Regions from separate parts of the Homo sapiens genome. Here region 2 is linked to region 1. Evidence: promoter capture Hi-C in human tissues and cell types (Jung and others, 2019). All regions are on one chromosome and are shown on one strand. Each heading gives the region's core, a stretch centred on a gene start or on the middle of the fragment in contact. The rest is flanking DNA. Distances are from core to core; before and after follow the strand shown. Region 1 holds the start of HAL (histidine ammonia-lyase). Region 2 overlaps SNRPF-DT (SNRPF divergent transcript).

Region 1 (5,513 bases), core at 1,373-3,872:
TAAAAGATGAGGGTAGGTGGAACGTGAACATATGTGTGTTTTAAACTTACTGTAGCTTATTGATAGGAATTACAGTTCTGGCAAATTTCCCAAAACCTGTAGTAATACCGTAAACAACTAGAATAAAAAGAGACATTATGCAATTAAATGCAGGGATTTTTGTTTGTTTATAAAAATATTTATAACATAAAGATAAAAAGATACCTGTTTTCTCTTTTATGATGCTATCTATGACCTCCCTGGATTTCTGCACCCTCTTCTCAGCTGTTGGGGTGAGCTAGGAAAATGTTGATCAGAACTGAGCACGTTAAAGACTTCCACGGGCAACAAAAATGGCCAGAGGACATCTTTCCCCTCCCTCCCCATACCTTTATTTTGTAGCGTCCCTTTCCCAAGTTGACCAGATCCTCCGTGGTCAGACGGTCTCCATCTAACTCGATGTACTACACAAAAGAAGGGGATCTCAGTGAGTCTGAACAGCTTGATTATTCTAACCAGAGTAGGGACACCTCCAACAGAACCAAACTGACATTTCAGAGATCTGATCATTGCGTGAAACATGAATATGCTAAATAAAAATGCATCTTGCATAAGAGGAGGCTTATTGGTGCAAAAGCATAATGCCTTTCCAAGCCCCCTTTCCCCACTACAGAGCTGGATAAAGCCCTGTGGTTGGTTGGTTTGTTTGTTTTGAGGCAGAGTCTCCAGCCCAGGCTGGAGTGCAGTGGTACAAACATGGCTCACTGCAACCTCTGCCTCCTGGGTTCAAGCAATTCTCGTGCCTCAGGCTCCTGAGTAGCTGGTATTACAGGTGCACGCCACCATACCTGGCTAATTTTTGTACTTTTAGTAGAGATGGGGTTTCACCATGTTGGCCAGGCTGGTTTCAAACTGATGACCTCAAGTGAACTGCCCACCTCGGCCACCCAAAGTGCTGGGACTACAGACATGAGTCACTGCTCCCGGCCAGCCCTGTTCTAATTGACAGTGTTTTCTCAGAAGTTTTCCTGGCTTTCCTCCCTCTTAAATAAGGGGCCTTAATTTTCTGAAGAAAAAGAAAGTGGTTTGAAGCTTACCTTTTCAGGCTCCCGGTACTTGCTGTATCTGTATCCAGGTAAAGGAACATATAGGGTGGTGTGGAAAAACCCCCAGCCCCACCATCTGCAGGAGCCACCCCCAGAGCAGACCAAAGAGCCTGTGGGAAAGGATACAGATAAACTCCTTCTGGTTGAGATGGAATGAAGTCAGGAGACATGGCATCACCCTCTATAACTAAAACAATGCACGGGAGACTCGTTACAGATCACATTGTACAGCCATGTTCCCCCTGTTAAACCAAGGAACGGCCCATCATTGGCCCATGAATTCTATAGAAATGGCTGCTTTAAAACTGCTTCAGATGGTTTCATGTGGTCTTAGCATCTTTATGTAGGAGGAGAGCAAAAAGCAGAAAGGTAGGTGTCAGGGCAGAGACCAGGGGTTTAGATGAAAGTTCAAGACAGAATTCCACTTCCATCCCCATTCCCAGCTTTATTTTCTTCAAAATCTGAACTGATGCTATGCTGCCGGCCTCCAGTCTGGGGGTGGGGGTGGATTCTTTCGAAAGGCAAAATAACCTCAAAATGATTCAGTCACTGCAAAGGGATTCAGACCTGCAGCCTTGAGTACCAGTCTAGTCTTTGTTACTTACTAGCTGCTGGAGTCTGGGTAAGTTACCTCCTCTCTGATTTCTCCTCCATCAGAGGTGGAGGAGAATCCTACCCATCTCACAGGGTTGTGTGAGGACTTAAGATCCCCAGAGGCGTGGCATGTGCCTGCACAGGGCCAGCCTCGGCAAGCCTGACCTCTGCTCATCATTTTCCCTGAGGTGGGGGTTCAATGCTGCAAAGACTAAGCCAGGCCAAACCGCACCCGTTCGCGGCCCTCTCCTGCAGCCACTCACCCACTTCCACGAACTCGTTGTTCTCTAGGGCCACCTCGAGCCGGTCCTCGTTGTCCAGCAGGCCCAGGCCCTTGCACCGGCGCACAAGGAAGTGCGCGTCATCCACGGAGGTGAAGCCACCATTGTCGGGCTTATTCTTGATATAGCGCCTCACGGCCTCCCGGCCCAGCCAGCCCACAGTGAGCTGCGCGTCCTGGCAGGGCACTGCCAGCCATTCCCCACGTACGTGCACCGTGTATCTGGGCATGGCTCCGCTGCAGCCTGAGGTCCTCAGCTGGTCACAGGAGGGGAGAGCTTTATGCAGGAGTGGCTACCGGGGTGTGGTCAGCTGGAAGGATGAGAATAGACTTTCAAACCACTCCCCCTCCTTCACCTTTACTCATTCATGCATTGGACAAATATTTATTGAGGTACCTGCTGTCCCTTTGGTTTTTGTAGCCGAGCAGGGGCAGGAGCAGGGGATGCAGACGGGTGAGCCTCCTGTCCACTTTCCATCCAGACCTGCTGCCAGAAAGGCCTGGGGTCTCCCACCCTGGGAGGTGCTGTTCTTGTCCCTGATGGCACCTACCTGCTGCTGGCCCCCTTTCTTCAGGGTCCCCAATTTCTCTCTCTTCCCTCGTTTCTGTCTGTGTTCTCTGCCATTAAGGGCAGCTTATAAACACCATGTTCCTGTCTTTATCTGAGATTACTCAACTGTAAAACGTGTTCTGTGGGCCAACTGTGACACTGGGAGTGTGGCAATCGTCACTCATTTGTTTATTCCACAAACATGTATTGAGCAACTACTTCCTGTCACCAGTAAGGTTTTCTGAAGCTTTCTTTCCACCAGGGAAGACTGCAAAGGCCAGAGATCATTTTCACAACTAAAGGTCGTCATCTGGGCAAATGAACCACTCTGACTTGGAGATTAGGGGCTCAGACAGCCGTGGATGAGAGTCCAGCTCTACTACTTATTAGCCTTGATTAGGTGAGTATTACCCTGTATTTCCTTATCAGAAGGCCTAGGGGCTAACTGCCTCCTTCCAGTATGTGCAGGATTTACCTGTGATCAAATCCTGGCTCTGCCATTTGCTAAGTGTATGACTTGTGGGCAAGTGATTTGACTTCTCTGGGCCTCAGTTGCCTCATCTGTAAAATGAAGATAATGGTAATGATGATAGTATATATGTCAAAGGGCTATTGGGAGGATGAAGTCAGTTCATATATGTAAAGCCCTCAACACAACACCTGGCATAGTGGAAATATTATAGAAGTGTCTGTGATTACTAGTATCTGGACACCAATACTCCATGTAACTATAATGCTTTATAAATGTTCTGTATGAATCATAAAGCTATAAAGTTCCATAAATGCTCTTTCATCTTGGCACATGGATATCCCTCACCCAATTAAGCTTCTTCACCACAGATAACTGCTCCCTGCACCCGCCTTATTACCATTGGTATTAAGGAACTCTGGATAGCATGATTACGGCATCAAAGATATGCAGATGCTATTTTGACTAAGCAGCACTTTCATCGTAAGCCAATTTTTAGAGATTTGATTATTGCACTAGAAAAATCCTGAAAAGTCTGTTTCCACTAAATCAGACTTCTGTTGGGAAGAGAGACATGGTTGCTCAAGAAAAACACCTATACTCATACCCAGAGTCCCTCTCATCTGCTGACAGCTTCCCAGGAAGCGTACAAATAGCTACCCTTCCTTGAGCCTTATTGAAACTTGCTCTTCAGATACCCACACCATGACTGCACCCTGGAATTTGTCATGACCTGAATTTGACACACTTAAGAAATCACCCTGGAATCTGTCACGACCTGAATTTGACACACTTAAGAAATCTGAAATTCCAATATTCCACCTTCTGACCACAACCTTCCAGCTGCCCTTTTACTCTAGTCACTGCCAGCCTTGGACCTGACCTCCAGTCAGTCTCTTCATCCCTCCACTTCCCACCAGCATCCTCACTTACTATCCTAGGAAGCTGGTCCCTAGTCGCTCACTGGACCACTCTTTCTTAAGCACTCTGAGATTCCTTTGCATCCCTAAACTTATGTCTACACTTGGAATAACACCCATCCCCTTAGTCATCACAAAAAACAGCCATCTCTTGGAAGGATTGCTTAAGCCTAGGCAGTCAATGCTGCAATGAGTTATGATTATACCACTGTACTCCAGCCTGGGTGAGAGCAAGACCCTGTTTAAAATTAAAAGAAACTGTCATATCTGTTCACCCAGGCAGAAGACACTGATAGAGAAAGTCCTGTGATCACATAGTTTGATGGTATTGCCCTTTTATTCCATCCAGCCCACAGTGACTTTCCAAAACTTTGACCCCTCTGCCAGGACCTTCTCGACATCCACCTCTAATTCTCAGAAGGAGACCTTACTTCCTACATCTGTGAGAAAACTGAGGACTGCACATGTGAACCACCTTAACCTTCTGCCCCACCCCCCCCCATTCATTCCTTGACTCATTTAACAAATATTTTTTCAACACCTGTTATGTAACAAGCTCTATGCGAGGTGCTGGGGATGAAATAAATAACAAACACGCTCTACATTCATGAGGCTTACTGTCTGGTGATGGATAAAGCTGTATAAAGATGACTAATAAGAGGTCTAACTATCTTCATGCTGCAAAACAACCCAAACTACTGCATGCTCCAGTTGACTGTCACTGCCGAGACCAGCTTCTGAGTAATTTCAGCCCAGGCATCAGACTAGTGAGGGAAGGAGCTTCCAGGTGATACCACCTCCCAGCCATGTAAGTCACCCCCAGCAGTTTGAGGATTCTAAACTCAGGCCCTACGCATTGTGGAGCAGAGTCTTCCTTGTTATTCTTTCTCCAGAAACGCACTTTCCAACTTCCTTTGCCTGTCTAGATCTTTCTTACTCCTTAAGCCTGTTTAGGCCTTTTCTTCTCCAGGAAGCATTCCCTAAATTCTTCAGTTGGGTTAAGTGGCCCTTCTCTGGGATGCCTTAGCATAGCTCTTCTTTAGTATTATCTAGGAAATTACTTGTCTGTGTTCATCCATAATTATGTATATATCCGATCTGGCACAAAGACATTTAGCATATGCTTACTAGCTGAACTGAAGAAATGTGAACTGCACCGAGCTGGCCCCTAGGTAAACCAGCAAGCAGGATTAAGTTTGTCTTTAGCGCCCTCTACCTTCTTCACAGCACCCTTCCATGCCACCCTTCAAGCATCCCTTGTCACAATTCACTTTCAGTATCACTAAGTGATAACTAAAAACGACATTAACTTACAGCTTGTCTTGTAAGCTCATAGGGCAGAAGCCTTAAAGAGCAGTATTTGGGTAAATGGATTTGCTAAAGTCTAATCTTAGAACATGATCTTATGCCAGTGATTTGAGCTGAACTCCCTTCTCTGTATTCTTGGCAAGGAAGGCAAGGGAGAGCAGAGCCTGGAGAAAGAATCACACTGCAGCATAGATAAGTGACCAAGAGGACAGAACGAGGCGGGTGGATTGCTTGAGCCCAGGAGTTCGAGACCAGCCTGGGCAACATGGCCAAACTCTTTCTCTACAAAACAAAAATTAGCCAGACA
Region 2 (5,513 bases), core at 1,462-3,961, 180 kb before region 1:
TACAGTGACAAGAGCACCTTGGGAAGTACCATAAGCAGAGAATGTTTGCGTTTGGGTCACTCCCAGGAAAGTTGCAGAGACATAATAGAAAAAAGCTAAAACTACAAAGGCATTTTTTTAAAAAAGGTTAACTTATTATTATTATTTTTAAATTTTACTTTAAGTTCTGCGATACGTGTGCAGAACATGCAGGTTTGTTACATACATTTGTATGTGCCATGGTGGTTTGCTGCACCTATCAACCTGTCATCTAGGTTTTAAGCCCCACATGCATTAGGTTATTTGTCCTAATGCTCTCCCTCCCCTTGCCCCCAAGCCCCCAACAGGCCCTGGTGTGTGATGTTTAAAATGATTAACTTATAAAGAAACCAAAGTGATCAGCTTTCATATTTATAATTATAGAAAACATTAAACTCACATTGCTAAGGGTGTAGTTAAGACTTTCTTCATCTTCAGCTATGTCCTTTTAGGGAACTGAACATTTTTTAATTTTTTATACAAAATTTAAAAACTCTCCTTATTTAAAATTGATTGACTACCCAAAAATGTGTCTTTCTTTGCTTCCATTCCATGATTTATAAAGAATTAGCTTTAGTACTCTTTTTAGAGTGTAGGTTGAAAAGGCATTTTATTTTCCACCTCAGAGTAATTTTTAAACCACATCAATTATTTTTCATGTGCAGCCGTTTTTATCCACAAATTATTGCCTTAGGCATTTTTACTTTACCACACATTTCAGAAGAGAAGGAATGAAGGGGAACCAGCTAATCTACAAATGTTCACCTACAGTAGATCAGGCCAAAAAAAGGAGAGAAGAATATGACCCAAAGCTTCTTCAGAAATAAGAACTGCTTATTAATAGTCTAATGCAGGGGTGTCCAGTCTTTTGGCTTTCCTGAGCCACACTGGAAGAAGAAGAAGTGTCTTGCGCCACACATAAAATACACTAACACTAAAGAAAGCTGATGAGCTAAAAAAAAAAAAAGAAAAAGAAAAAGAAAAAAGCAAAAAAAAAATCTCATAATGTTTTAAGAAAGTTTATGAATTTGTATCAGATTGTAAGCCTCTTGAGAACAATCTTGGGCTTTATTTATGTTTCCCAGCACATAAGTAAACATTTCCCAACAAAATGCATAAATGGTAGGGGATAAAGTAAATTGGGAATCAACTCTTTAGTGATAATTAAATGCAAGGAAAGTAGATTATATATTCAGCGTTTACCAAGCTTGGTAAATAAAGCACAAGATTGTTCTCAAGAGGCATACAATCTGATTTGGCATGTAATAATTTGCACATAAAGCAATGAGAAACTACTATAAGGCAATAAAACATGCTAGAGACTGGGAGACCCAGAAAAAGAAAAAAAAAGCTGGATGGCGACTATGATAAGGTTTGGATATGCTAAAAAGGGGCAAGAAAGACATTCTCCAAAGGAATACATGAAAGTTTAAAATTAATAAGGGGCTGGGCGTGATGGCTCACACCTGTAATCCTAGCACTTTGGGAGACAGAAGAGGGAGGATTGCTTAAGCTCAGGAGTTGGAGACCAGCCTGGGTGACATACTGAGACCTCGTCTCTACTAAAGATAACAAAAATTAGCCAGGCATGGTGGCACAAACCTATAGTTCCAGCTACTCAGGAGGCTGAAGTGGGAGGCTCACTCAAGCCCCGAGGCTACAGTAAACTATGATCATGCCATTACACTCCAGAAGGAGTGTAATATCTTTTCTGTTTGCTAAAATTATACTGCTTTGGATTCACCCATTTATTTCTATCATGTTTTCTAAGAAGGAGAAAAGGCTACAAGATATTGAGATGTTCACCTGTCAATGAAAAGGAGCTATAATTTGGCCCAGAAAGAAAGTCTATTGATCCAAGGAGCAGCTTAGACACAGAGCTGTTTTCAGTATTACCCAGGTCTCATGCTATCCACCACCAGCAGTCCTCACTGAACTTCCCCCCAAGCTGAATAATTCTAAACTTTAGAAAATGCTAACAATTTTTAAAGTGTCAAGAAATTATGGTAAAATGAACACTTACATTTGGTACATGATATGAACATATACAAACAAAATATTTTACTACAGAACCATAAATTGATGGAATGATCAAATAAGATTATAGAATCATGGCTATAGAAATAGAAATACAAGGTCAGGAGCAGTGGCTCATGTCTGTAATCCCAACACTTTGGGAGGCCGAGGTGGGCAAATCATGAGTTCAAGAGATCGAGACCATCCTGGCCAATAGTGAAACACCATCTCTACTAAAAATACAAAAATTAGCTGGGCGTGGTGGTGCATGCCTGTAGTCCCAGCTACTTGGGAGGCTGCGGCAGGAGAATTGCTTGAACCTGGGAGGCAGGGGTGGCAGTGAGGTGAGATCGCGCCACTGCACTCCAGCCTGGTGACAGAGTGAGACTCTGTCTCAAAAACAAACAAACAAACAAACAAACAAAAAGAAATACAAGTCTGTTGACTAAGCCTACCATGACTCATGTAGGATGATATCGTCTAGAGAAAAACATGGCCATTAAATCAAGTACTTGTGATAACAGTCAAATGATATCAAGTTCTAAAGTCAGAGAGAAATAGTTAAATCAATAACTGAAAATTTACAGATTTTATTGGATAAATGGTGAAGTATTTAGTTGTGAAAATATAAACTTTTCTCCAGAGTTAAAATGCCTGAGTACTGACCCTCCTTTGTTTGTAATTGACAATATCCCTAAGATATTTTCTTAAAGAAAATTATCAGTATCAACATTTTAACTCTGGAGAAAAATATATATATAATGATAATTTTCTTTAAGAAAACATCCTACGGTTTTTGTCAATTACAAACAAAGAAGGGTTAGCATTCAGGTTCTTTGCCTTAAGGAAACAGAACTCTGAATGTAGAGCTCTTTATGACTCCAATAAAGGGCATATATTTTTCTGTATCTCCTAGAAAGAGGTGTGGAAGTTTTTGGTGGTTGAAGAATTAGAATCCAAGTTAGATTCTGTTCTCTTAAAACAGGATCCATTTTCCGCATGTAATTTCACAATGGGTGCTATGACCAGCTAAGCCTATAAATGATCACTGCACCAAATCAGGACTCTAATATACTACTGTTTTACTTTATATGCCTAGTACATATAGCAAAGTTGCATAACAGAAGAAAAACAAACCCTGGTTTTACCATTCTCATGGCGTTAACATAATCTCCAGTGAGTAAAATGATACTTCTTAAAAATTGGCCCAATTTATCTATTGTAACTATAGCCTATAACGTACTTTCAGTAACAGGGTGATCATGATAAAGAAGAATGCTGACCAGGTGTGGTGGCCCACACCTGTAATCCCAACACTTTGGGGGACTGAGGCAGGAGGATTGCTTAAACCCAGGAGTTTGAGAACAGCCTTGGCAACGTAGCAAGACACCATCAATACAAAAAATTTTAAAAATTGGCTGAGCAGTTGGGCGTGGTGGCTCATGCCTGTAATCCCAGCACTTTTGGAGGCCAAGGCGGGTGGATCACCTGAGGTCAGGAGTTCGAGACCAGCCTGGCCAACATGGTGAAACCCCATCTCTACTAAAAATACAAAAATTAGCTGGGTGTGGTGGCGGCATCTGTAGTCCCAGCTATTCGGGAGGCTGAGGGAGGAGAATTGCTTGAACCCAGGAGGCGTAAGTTGCAGTGAGCCAAGATCATGCCACTGTACTCCAGCTTGGGCAACAGAGTGAGACTCTGTCTCAAAAAAAAAAAAAAAAAAATTAGCTGAGCATGGTGACACCTTCTTATAGTCCTTCCTACTTCAGAGCCTGAAGTAACAGGATCACTTGAGCCCAGGAGGTCAAGGCTGCAGTGAGCCACGATCACACCACTACCCTCTATTCTGGGCAACAGAATGAAACTCCGTTTCACTAAAAAAAAAAAAAAGAAGAAGAAGAAGAAGAAGAAGAAGAAGAAGAAGAAGAAGAAGAAGAACCCTCTTTGTCATTCAACACCTGTTTTTGAAAACTTGATATGTGGCTAACAGAACAGAGTGTCCCTGGAAAGAGGTCTTTTTTTCTTTTGAGACAGTCTGACTCTGTTGCCCAGGCTGGAGTACAGTGGTGCAATCATGGCTCACCGCAGCCTCAACCTCCCAGGCTCAAGCAATCCTCCCACCTCAGCCTCCCAAGTAGATGGGACCATAGGCAGTGCCACCACACCTGGCTAATTTTCTAAAACTTTTTTGTAGAGGCAGGGTCTCACTATGTTGCCCAGGCTGGTCTCAAACTTCTGGCCTCCAAAAGTGCTGGGATTACAGGTTTGAGCCATCGTGCCCAGCCTAAGAAGTCTTTTTAATAAGGAAAGACTCTAGAACAAAGAATATAAAGGAGTTTCAAGCTTATTTGATTTGGAGGGAAAGACTCTGCAGTTCAAGCTTATTTGATTTAGAGTATCTTTACATAATGTAGTGAAATTTCATTAATTTGTATTCATACAATGAACTAATTTCACCTAGTTTGGGCTATTCTGTAATATTTATGATGCAAGAAAGTCAGTAACAAAATTATAAACTAGTTCTTTCCGGTTAGAAGGTGTAAAATGAAAACAGTTGGACAATTATTCAGGCACTAGAAAACATTATGTGGAGCAACTCCTAGGATTTGGTTTGCTCCCCACGGAAAAACAAGCTTCCAAATAAATATTTCAGCAAACAAATCTATTACTTTTTTCTTTTCTTAATTATTCTTAGAAAAAATGTACATATAAACACTTTGACTGTTATCCATAAGTCAAATATTTCCAAAGTAGACACTGCCCACGTTTGGTTAATTACCTGAATTTACAGGGTTGGTTTCCATTCCATTCATTTGCGTAGTCACGTTGTTTAGTTCACATGATACGTGCCAGCCTCAGCTGAAATTCTAGTTATTGGCAGAGTTTAAGAAAGCTTGGGAAAGGAACCTGGGCAAGTGCTTTTATCCATTCTGGTCAAGGGGTCCTGATCTGGAGTCCATGCATGAGCTTTTAGGAGGTCTGCAAATCTGCAAAACCTGCATGTAACAATTGTATGTTTTCATAAAAAAATTTTTTGAGGCAGGGTCTCACTCTGTCACCCAGGCTGGGGTACAGTGGTGTGATCTCAGCTCACTGCAACCTCTACCTCTCAGGTTCAAGCGATTCTCCTGCCTTAGCCTCCCGAGTAGATGGGACTACAAGAACGTGCCATCAAGCCCAGCTAATTTTTGTATTTTTTTGGTAGCAACAAAGTTTCACTGTGTTGGCCTGTCTGGTCTCAAGCTCCTGTCCTCAAGTGATCCGCCAACCGTGGCCCCCAAAGTGCTGGGATTACAGGTGTGAGGCACTGCACCTGGCTGATTTTTATATGTTTAGATGAAAATTTCCAGAGAGTTCACGATTTTCATGATTATCAAAGGTCACTCTCCTTCTAAAAAGGTTCAATTATTGATTTAAGGAGTTCTTATTTGTCAGTCCTTATTGGAGATCCAATGCTCCAATGAACTGAGATACAATTT

What was found. The method cuts DNA at HindIII sites, captures the fragments that hold promoters and counts their contacts. A contact is called where the count stands out against the background at its distance.
Region 2: a fragment that was not itself captured here is called in contact with the fragment with the promoter of HAL in region 1 in 1 of the 25 tissues and cell types used here (mesendoderm cells).

What each region holds. Positions count from the first base shown.
Region 1 is chr12:95,993,722-95,999,234 of GRCh38, forward strand. HAL (histidine ammonia-lyase) reads right to left here and starts at 2,623. Exons shown (of 21, transcript NM_002108.4): 1 at 2,357-2,623; 2 at 1,943-2,270; 3 at 1,212-1,272; 4 at 1,077-1,104; 5 at 369-443; 6 at 205-277; 7 at 51-117. The coding sequence starts at 2,189. LOC102723340 (a long non-coding RNA gene) reads left to right here and starts at 2,761. Exons shown (of 4, transcript XR_945237.4): 1 at 2,761-2,909; 2 at 4,610-4,706. RefSeq lists enhancers at 2,836-3,005, 4,230-4,524, 4,971-5,030. The HindIII fragment of the contact is 2,850 bases long and covers 196-3,045 here.
Region 2 is chr12:95,809,860-95,815,372 of GRCh38, forward strand. All of the region lies in intron 2 of SNRPF-DT (SNRPF divergent transcript), which reads right to left. The region is part of intron 1 of LINC02410 (long intergenic non-protein coding RNA 2410); the gene reads left to right. Among named protein-coding and RNA genes, the nearest start is that of LINC02410, 9.5 kb to the left of the region's middle. The HindIII fragment of the contact is 3,368 bases long and covers 1,028-4,395 here.